2 separate regions of the Homo sapiens genome follow, and region 1 is linked to region 2. The links are contacts of gene promoters, found by promoter capture Hi-C in blood cells and fetal thymus (Javierre and others, 2016). All regions are on one chromosome and are shown on one strand. Each heading gives the region's core, a stretch centred on a gene start or on the middle of the fragment in contact. The rest is flanking DNA. Distances are from core to core; before and after follow the strand shown. Region 1 has its middle 29 kb from the start of ST7. Region 2 holds the start of ST7-AS2 (ST7 antisense RNA 2).

The links. The method cuts DNA at HindIII sites, captures the fragments that hold promoters and counts their contacts. A CHiCAGO score of 5 or more calls a contact.
Region 1: a fragment that was not itself captured here is called in contact with the fragment with the promoter of ST7-AS2 in region 2 in 1 of 17 cell types (erythroblasts); the score reaches 5.0 in erythroblasts.

What each region holds. Positions count from the first base shown.
Region 1 is chr7:116,922,435-116,926,849 of GRCh38, reverse strand. No RefSeq gene overlaps it. Among named protein-coding and RNA genes, the nearest start is that of ST7, 29 kb to the left of the region's middle. The HindIII fragment of the contact is 3,001 bases long and covers 1,018-4,018 here.
Region 2 is chr7:117,144,228-117,149,048 of GRCh38, reverse strand. ST7-AS2 (ST7 antisense RNA 2) reads left to right here and starts at 3,457. Exons shown (of 5, transcript NR_109981.1): 1 at 3,457-3,653; 2 at 4,796-4,821. All of the region lies in intron 9 of ST7 (suppression of tumorigenicity 7), which reads right to left. The HindIII fragment of the contact is 5,952 bases long and covers 672-4,821 here.

The DNA of each region.
Region 1 (4,415 bases), core at 1,269-3,768, 220 kb after region 2:
TGGCACGATCTTGGCTCACTGCAACCTCCGCCTCCCGAGTTCACACGATTCTTCTGCCTCAGTCTCCCAAGTAGCTCGGATTACAGGCACCCACCACCATGCCTGGATAATTTTGGTATTTTTTAGTAGAGACGGGGTTTCACCATGTTGGCCAGGCTGGTCTCGGACTCCTGAACTCAAGTGATCTGCCCACCTTGGCTTCCCAAAGTGCTGGGATTACAGGCATGAGACACTGCACCCAGCCAAATACATTTTTATTTTTATTGAATGGATTCTAAGGGTTTTTTCTAAAATTATTCTGATATTGCTATTACTTAAAAAATACCATTTCTTCAAGAACATTTATGATATCTTTTTTTTTTTTTTTTTGAGATGGAATCTCGCTCTGTCACCCAGGCTAGAGTGCAGTGGCGCAATCTCAGCTCACTGCAACCTCCGTAGCTGGGATTACAGGAACCCATCACCACACCCGGCTAATTTTTGTACTTTTAGTAGAGACGGGGTTTCACCATGTTGGACAGGGTGGTTTCCAACTCCTGACCTCAAGTGATCCGCCTGCCTCGGCCTCCCAAAGTGCTGGGATTACAGGTGTGAGCCACCGCACGTGGCCAATATCATTTTATATCATTAAATCTTTGGTGCAATTTTAACTTGGTGTAAGGTATGAGGTATAGATCCAACTTTTCTCCCACAGCTGGCTACCCTGTTGTCTCAGCATCATTCATCTGTTGCCCCATTGATTTGAGATGCTGCCCTTAAAGTGAGGATTAGGGACTAAACTTTATCAAATGGTTTAATGATATTTTCTCAGAGAATTATATGTGCTTTTCTTTAATATGCTAATATAGGAGGCTACTGTACTAGATTTCCTAACAGGGAACAATCATTGGTTTCCAGTGATAAACCATACTTGATCATAATGTAGTATTCTTTATTAATGTATTAAGGAATTTTACTTTTGACTATACAGGGAAGTTTGATCAGTTTTCTGGTTTTGGTGCTATTCTTATTTAAGCTTATAAATAAGTCTCATAAAATGATATCTATCTTTTTCTACCATCTAAAATAATTTCTGTAACATAGAAAATTATCTGTATGTGGTAAGTTGGATAAAATTCTCTGTAAAATAATGAGTCTAATGACTTTTTAAAGGGGTATTAGTAAACTTTCTATTCTATTCATCCTATGGTTATGACCTGTCATTTTTCTACTTTTGCCCGACTCAATCTTTGTATATATTTCCTTTCACGTAGAGTTATATGTCAGCATAAGTTGTATAATTTTTTAAATGACATTTAAAATTTGAGATTGTTGTAATGAACACCTATATACCTATTATCCAATTAAAAAAAGTTACAATCCTTTTATACAGTTCCCTAATCCTATTCCCTTATGTTCCTCCCCACACATATATTATTCTACTTTTTTTGAGAGATAGGGTCTCACTTGGCCACCCAGGCTGGAGTGCAGTGACATGATCAAAGCTCACTGTAATTTGAACTCCTGGGCTCAAGTGATCCTCTTGCCTCAACCTCCTGAGTAGCTAGGACCATAGGCACACATCACTGTGCCCAGCTAATTTTAAAATTTTTCTAGAAATGGGGTCTTGATATATTGCCCAGGCTGATCTTGGAACACCTGGGCTCAAGCGATTCTAGCACCTTGGCCTCCCAAGGTGCCTGGATTATAGGTGTGAGCCACACATCTGGCCTGATTTGGTGTTTTAATCCATTGTATGTTTATAGAGTCACTATATATAAAATGATAAAACATTTGTATTGTTTTATGTATTTTTAAACGTTAGTATACAACTTGTTTTGTTCTCTCAACAGGGGTTTTCATAGTATGTTAATATAACCTCTGACTCACAAGTTTTTAAAAGCTGTATGCTCTCCCAGTGTTAACAAACCACAGTATCTGTACTCATTCGCTGTGGTTGGATATTTAGGTTGACTTACGGTTTTGCCTTTTCAAGTCTCTGGAATGAGATTTATTTCCTTTAAAAATTTCTCTTTCTCCTCTGTAAAGCCCCGAAGTAAGGGGCAAATGAGTGTGCGTGGGCAGGCTTTTCTTTACCTTGCCTTTTCCTCACTGGAGATGCTTTCAGTGTCCTGGAACACTGATCTCCTATATTTTGCTCTCCTTTTTCAAAGAACTAAAGTCTTCCCTAAGTCCTTAATTTATACTTAAGAGAGTTATTGCTCCCGGCTATTTCTGTTTAGTATTCTTTTGGGAAACAGGAGGCAAGCCTTCATTTTCAGGTCAAAGTCTGGGATGGAAGAGATCCAGATCAGGTATTCAGACGCTGAGAGTCTAGCAAGTTAGCAGCCCAAAGGAAGGTGACACTTTGTGCTGTTTAGTCAGCAAGATTTTTTGGGATATCCTTGCAGTAAAATAATTCCTTGAAAATTTATTTGGTTAAAGAGCTGGGCATTTTACAAATTTTCCCAGAAGTCATCAATCTTCTAAGATATGCCAACTGGGCTTCCTTAACAGTCTTCTACTAATCAGCATGCTTTAACTGCAGATTGTCCCACACACAGCTCATGTTATGAGAGTCAGTGGCTGATTTGGTATCCGTGATGTTTTTTTTTTTTTTGAGACGGAGTCTTGCTCTGTCGCCCAGGCTGGAGTGCAGTGGTGAGATCTCGGCTCACTGCAACCTCCGCCTCCTGGGTTCAAGCAATTCTCTTGCCTCAGCCTCCTGAGTAGCTGGGACTACAGGTGCACACCACCATGCCTAGCTAATTTTTGTATTTTTAGTAGAGACGGAGTTTCACCATGTTGGCCAGGATGGCCTCGATCTCTTGACCTTGTGATGCACCTGCCTCAGCCTCCCAAAGTGCTGGAATTACAGGCGTGAGCCACTGCGCCCAACCCGTGATGTGTTTTCTAGCGAGTTTGTGTGAAAAAAAATCTGTTTTCTGATACAGTCACACTGCAAAAATGGAAACTGACGTTAACTAATACTCTTTTGTTAGATTATACCAAAACCAGAGAGAAAATATCTTATTAGCCATACTATAGTTTATAAGAACACTGATTCTTAACGTTACTGTTATAATTTCATTTTGTACTGTGCTGTTTTAAAGTCAGATTTAGTTTTGAACTGGATGACATTCTGACCCATGACATTTCTTTACCAGAAACCTATTATCTACATATTAATGCTTCACTGAGATACAAGAGGATTTCCTTCCTACCACTGGCATGCATACTTGCCAAAGCAGTTTAAAACTCATCCTTTCCAGAAAACCTCCCTTGGCTTGACATCTCTTTAAAAGCTATCTTAGGTAAGGCTTGAAGTTTATCTTACAAACAATCTGTGTTGTCCATGGCACATCTTCCTAAACAGGTTTAAGGTGTGCCAAGATACTGATCTTCTTAACCCTTACAACAATTAGCATGCAGCCTTGTCCATTTCCTGCAGTGTGCCTTATTTATTTGTATATTTTCAGACAGGTTCTCACTCTATCACCCAGGTTAGAGTGCAGTGGCACGATCACAGCTGACTGCAGCCTCAACCTGTCCAGGCTCAGGTGATCCTCCCAGCTCAGCTCCTGAGTAGCTGGGACTACAGGCGTACGCCACACCTGGCTAATTTTTGTATTTTTAGTAGAGACAGAGTTTTGCCATGTTGCCTAGGCTGGTCTTGAACTCCTAGACTGAAAGGATCCACCTGCCTCAGCCTCCCGAAGTGCTGGGATTAGAAGTGTGAGCTACTGTGCCCAGCCACAAATATCATTTTCTACATATGTTGTGATGTGACAAGGGTAGGAAAACACTGTTGTTCCATGAGTAGTTTGTAGATTGCTTTAAGAAACGGTTTTCTATTTTCCAAACTCCACAACGCCTAGAACAGCTCTCTCAATACATCTGCTTAAATGTGAATGACCTGACATTAATTTCTAATGCTAACTAGACCTTAAAAATTTAATCGGCTATTTTAATCTTAACCTGTGAATATTTTGCGTATTCTGCAATAGCTAGCACTACTGGTCAAACTTACAATAAAGCTTTTGCATAATACTCAGAATGTCAAATTTGGATATGTCTACACAGCATCTGCCTTTAAGAAGTCCTCAGTTTCAAGCCCCCAAATCTATACTATTCATTCATTCATTCGTTCATTCATTCATTCATTCATTCATTCAGAGATGGAGTTTCACTCTTTGGAGTGCAATGGCGTGATCTTGGCTCACTGCAACCTCTGCCTCCCAGGCTCAAGCAATTGTTTCAGCCTCCCAAGTAGCTGGGATTACAGGTGTGCACCACCACGCCTGGCTAATTTTGTATTTTTTTAGTAGAGATGAGGTTTCACCACGCTGGTCAGGCTGGTCTCAAATTCCTGACCTCAGGTGATCCACCTGCCTCAGCCTCCCAAAGTGCTGGGATTACAGGCATGAGCCACCGTG
Region 2 (4,821 bases), core at 2,208-4,707:
TTAAAAGGGAAACCCAGGAGACCCAATTCATTGTCCTCCCTGGTCATCGCATGCATTGCTGGCTTTGCCTGTTTTCTGGTTTCTGTTCCTGGTGGCCCAGGTCTGAAATAAGTCTGTTTCCAGTGATCACCTCTCTGCTTACCCTAGAAATCAACAACTTCACTGGCTTCTGCTCACAGAAGCAACCCTGCCAGCCCAGCAGAAACTCAGACATCAGTGCTCCCCACACATCTCACAGAAGGAAAAGCTGTTCACAAATGTCCATGGTTGCCTCCTGATTTAGGGTGGGAAGCAGGGCACCATATGCTAAATTAATTCTATCATTTGGGAATAATTTATAGATATTGACATAGTGATAGGCTTAGTAACTGATCAAGAACCATAAATATAAGTATGGATCTTAGTGAGTTGGGAATATCAGAAGAATAAAACAGAAATTTAAAATGTTGAATCAGTGGAAGATATTTTCAATGGGAGAGAAAGTACGACATAGAAAACATGAAAGACAGCACACACGCTCAAAAAAAGCAGTAATTATTCTGTTACTCTCTATAAACACGAATGGGATAAACATAGCAATCAAAAGTATAAAACCCTCAGATTTGAATAAAGACAATATTCATCAAAAATTTTACAGATCCAAATGATCCATCAAAAACTTATAGGAAGCTTGATTATAAAATTTAGACAACAATAAACCAGTTAAATATGAATCACAATAAGTTAGAGTAGGTATTCTTAACATATGTTAAAAAATTCAAGGAAGATAAATATAAGAGACATTATATACTCATAATAACATATCAGTAAGTCATAATAATCACCAACATAAACGCACCCAACAACAAAACCTCAAAATATATAAAGGAACAAATAACTGAGCATGCAAAAAACAGATTAATAAACAGTTGGAGGTGAATATTCTATCACATTCTTCTTAGAAACTGATAGAGCAAAGAGACAAAATAAGCTGATATATGAGATTTGAATAATATGGTTTATAAGCTCAAACTAGTAAATACATACAAATCTTTATACCCAACAGGGATTATATTCCCTTCAAACACAGATATAACATTTATTAAACCTGACCATATGCTAGGCCTCAGGGGAAGTGACCATAAATTCTCCCCAAATCAATATCATATGATGTATGCTTTCTAAGCATAATGTAAAGAAAAAAATCAATCAATGACGAGGGGTAAAACATACTATACAGGGTAAAATGAAATTTAAAAGAAATTTAAAAATGCTTAGGATCAAATGGTAAAAAGGCAACAAACACAGAGGATAGAGGGGGAGAAGGATGAGGAGGAGAAGAAACAATAATACAAATATGGAAAGAAAAAACAGAATAAAAACAAAAAAGTTGAGGAAATAAACTAAACCTAATTGTTTTTAAAAGACTGGCAAAATAGACAACCTCTGCCAAGACTAATCAGGCAAAATAAGAGTAAAAACTAGCCAAATAAAATACAAAATGAAAAGGAAGAAAAAAACTACATAGTATTTTTAAATTATGAAATAACATCATGAAAAGCTATATGTAATAAATTTTTAAAATATATAAATATGTATATTAAATATAGACGTGCTTGAAGCAGAGCCTAGTACTGAGATACATGGGCATAGTCAGGTATTGCTCGTAAGAATTTAATCATAGGCAGCCATTCTGAAGAGTGAAATTGCAGGACTCACTGGAATCTAGCACGTATATAATCCCACAGCCTAATGAATGTTTCTCACATGTCTACAAGGATGTTCATTGCAGCACTGCTGGGATAACAGGAAGTTGGAAGAAACCTGGAGTTCCTTCACTAGAGGAAAGGTTAAGTAAAATAGAGTAAGAACACAACATGGAATATGATGCAGCAGTTAGAAACTGCAAACTAGATGCAAGAGGTACATAGAGCAAAAATGGACAGATTGAAAAACAGTGTTGAGTAAAACAGGGAAGAAGCAGAGATCTATAGACATATAAATTAAACACACAAGACACTACATTCTGTATTCTGCAAAGACTGTTATAGTCACAGTTTCTCTGAAATCAATTAGATTTTATCTTCCTGAAGTTCCTCACCAACTATATTTTAAGAGGGATCTAATCAAATCCCCCAAAATGTCCCAACAAAGTATACATTTGTCATAGTCCACAAAAAGATCAAGAAGTCACTACTTAAGATAACAATGAATAGGTGCTCTCTCAAATGTAACATGTTCAAAACTGAACTCGTAATTTTCTCTCAAAAAACCTCTCTCACCCCAGACTTCCACATCTTAGCTGACACAAACTCCTTCCCTTTCAAGGCAAATATTTAGAATCAGCCCTGACTTCTCTTTTTTCTTGTACTGCATATCTGATTAATTAGCAAATTCTGCTAGTCCTGCCTTCAAAATATATCTAGAATCTGATCACTTCACACCACCTTCTCTGCTACCACTCTGGCCTGAGCTGCCATTGTGGCTTGCCAAGATTAATACAAGAGCCTGCTGACCGACTCCTCCGCTTCTCTGCTGCTACACAGCAGCCTGTAAAAATTAAGACTGGTCATGTCACTCCTCTGTTCAAAACCTTGCAAAGCTCTCCATTTCACCCAGAGTAAAAGCTGAAATCCTTACTGTGATCAATAAGCCCTGTATGATCTTTAAGCTCCCTCCCTTCTCTCCCCTGGGCTTATTCTGTTCTATCCACCCAAGATTCCTTTGCTGTTGCTTGAACACTCCAGACATACTGCTGCCTCAGGGCCTTTGAAAATACATCACATGACTAACTTTGGCATCTCCTTCAGTCTTCAGTCACATATGCCTTTACAGTGCGATGGCACTGTAGAAGTGTAGGTGATATCACAACTTCCTCAATTCTTTGACTTGTCACAATGAGCATAAATTACTTTTGTAATTTTATAGGACACTCATGGTATGTGTGAGTTAAATGACACAGTATTTGTAAATTTCTTAGCAGAATGTATGGCACATGTAATACTCACTCTGTAGGTTATTGATAAAAACTAAAAACCCTGTAGTTCTCAGCTGGGAATCCTGTAGATGATGATGAAAATGCAGAAAGGACACAAGGAGCTCCCTCTGACTATTTTTTTAAAGGAGCCAAATGTAAGAACACAGAGGGTTAGTTAGCAGCTATCATCTTTACAGGCTAGGCTGAGAGTGGGTTTAACATGGTCAAAGGCATACAAAACATGTTTTTAGCTGACCTGATATAGCAGTGAAGTTTTAGAAGAATGTAAATTTATACAGGGTATCTGTATTTTGCTTTTATATATGACCTGCTATTGTGGGTTAAATTATGTCCCCCAGAAAGACATGTTGAGATCCTAACCCTCAGTACCTATGAATGTGACCCTATCAGAAATAGTGTTTCTGCAGAAACAATCAACTTAAGATGAGGTCATAAATACAATATGACTTATATCCTTATGACAGGAGGGAAATCTATACACAGAAACACACACACACAGGGAGAAAGCCATGTGAAGACAGGCAGAGACTGGGGTAATGCAGCTACAAGGGAATGTCAGAGATTGCTAGCAAACACCAGAAGCTGGAAGAGGCAATTAAGGATTGCTCCCTAGAGCTTTTAGAGGGAGGACGGCTCTGCCACCTGCCTTGTTCTTGGACTCCTAGCCTCCAGAATTGTGAGAGAATAAATTTCTGTTGTTTAAACTATCTAGTTTGGGGCATTTTGTTATCACAGTTCCAGGAAACTAATATGCCTGGGAATAAACTAGTCACAGGTCTGGTTTTACGCTAAAATTCTAGGTGGATGAAGTTTTTCTTCACCACATCCATATTTCCCTGTGTCTACCCCATTTTCTACTTTTTTTTTGAGATGGGGTCTCATTCTGTTGCCCAGGCTGGAATGCAGTAGCACAATCATGGCTCACTGCAGCCTTAACTTCAGGCCCAAGAGATCTTCCTGCTTCAGCCTCTCAAGCAGCTGGGACCACGGACCACAGGCGTGTGCTACCACACCTGGCTAATTTATGTATTTTTAGTAGAGATGGGGTTTTACCACGTTGCCCACGCTGGTCTCAAACTCCTGGGCTCAAGCAATCTGCCCCGCCTCGGCCTCCCAAAGTGCTGGGATTACAGGCGTGAGCCACCATACCTGGCCATTTTCTACCTTTTTTGCATCCACTACTTTGTTCTTTTGAAAGTGGTCTCAATCTTTATTTTTAAATTTTACTTTTATCATCATAAGAAAATACAAGTAGCACATATAATACTCAACATTACCTAAATACAAAAAATAGACAGCTATAATTTTAATGCTAAAGACTTTCTCTATAATCAAGGTTTTTCCTTATGCTTATACAAGTGACTCTCAAGGCATGGTCAGGGAACCCCTGGAGGTATGGTTAGGGAACCCCCAGAATTTTGGTTTTTTTTTTTTTTTTGGAGACAGGGTCTTACTCTGTTGCCTAGGCTGGAGTGCAGTGGCCTGATTACAGCTCACTGCAGCCTTGACCTACCAGGCTCAGGTGATCCTCCCACCTCAGCCTCCTGGGTAGCTGGGGATTACAAGCATGTACCACCATGCCCAACTAATTTTTTTTTTTTTTTTTGGTAGAGATGGGGTTTCATCATGCTGCCCAGGCTAGTGTCCAACTGCTGAGCTCAAGCAATTTGCCTGCCTTGGCCTCCCAAAGTGCTGGGATTACAAGTGTGAGCCACTGAGGAGTGTCTGACATCTTTTCGGGGAGTCCTTAGATCAAAACTATTTTCATAATAATAAAATTTTTCTTTGCCTTTTTCACTCTCCCTCTCCCACTCCAAGAGGTCACCTGTTGGGCAATATCACCA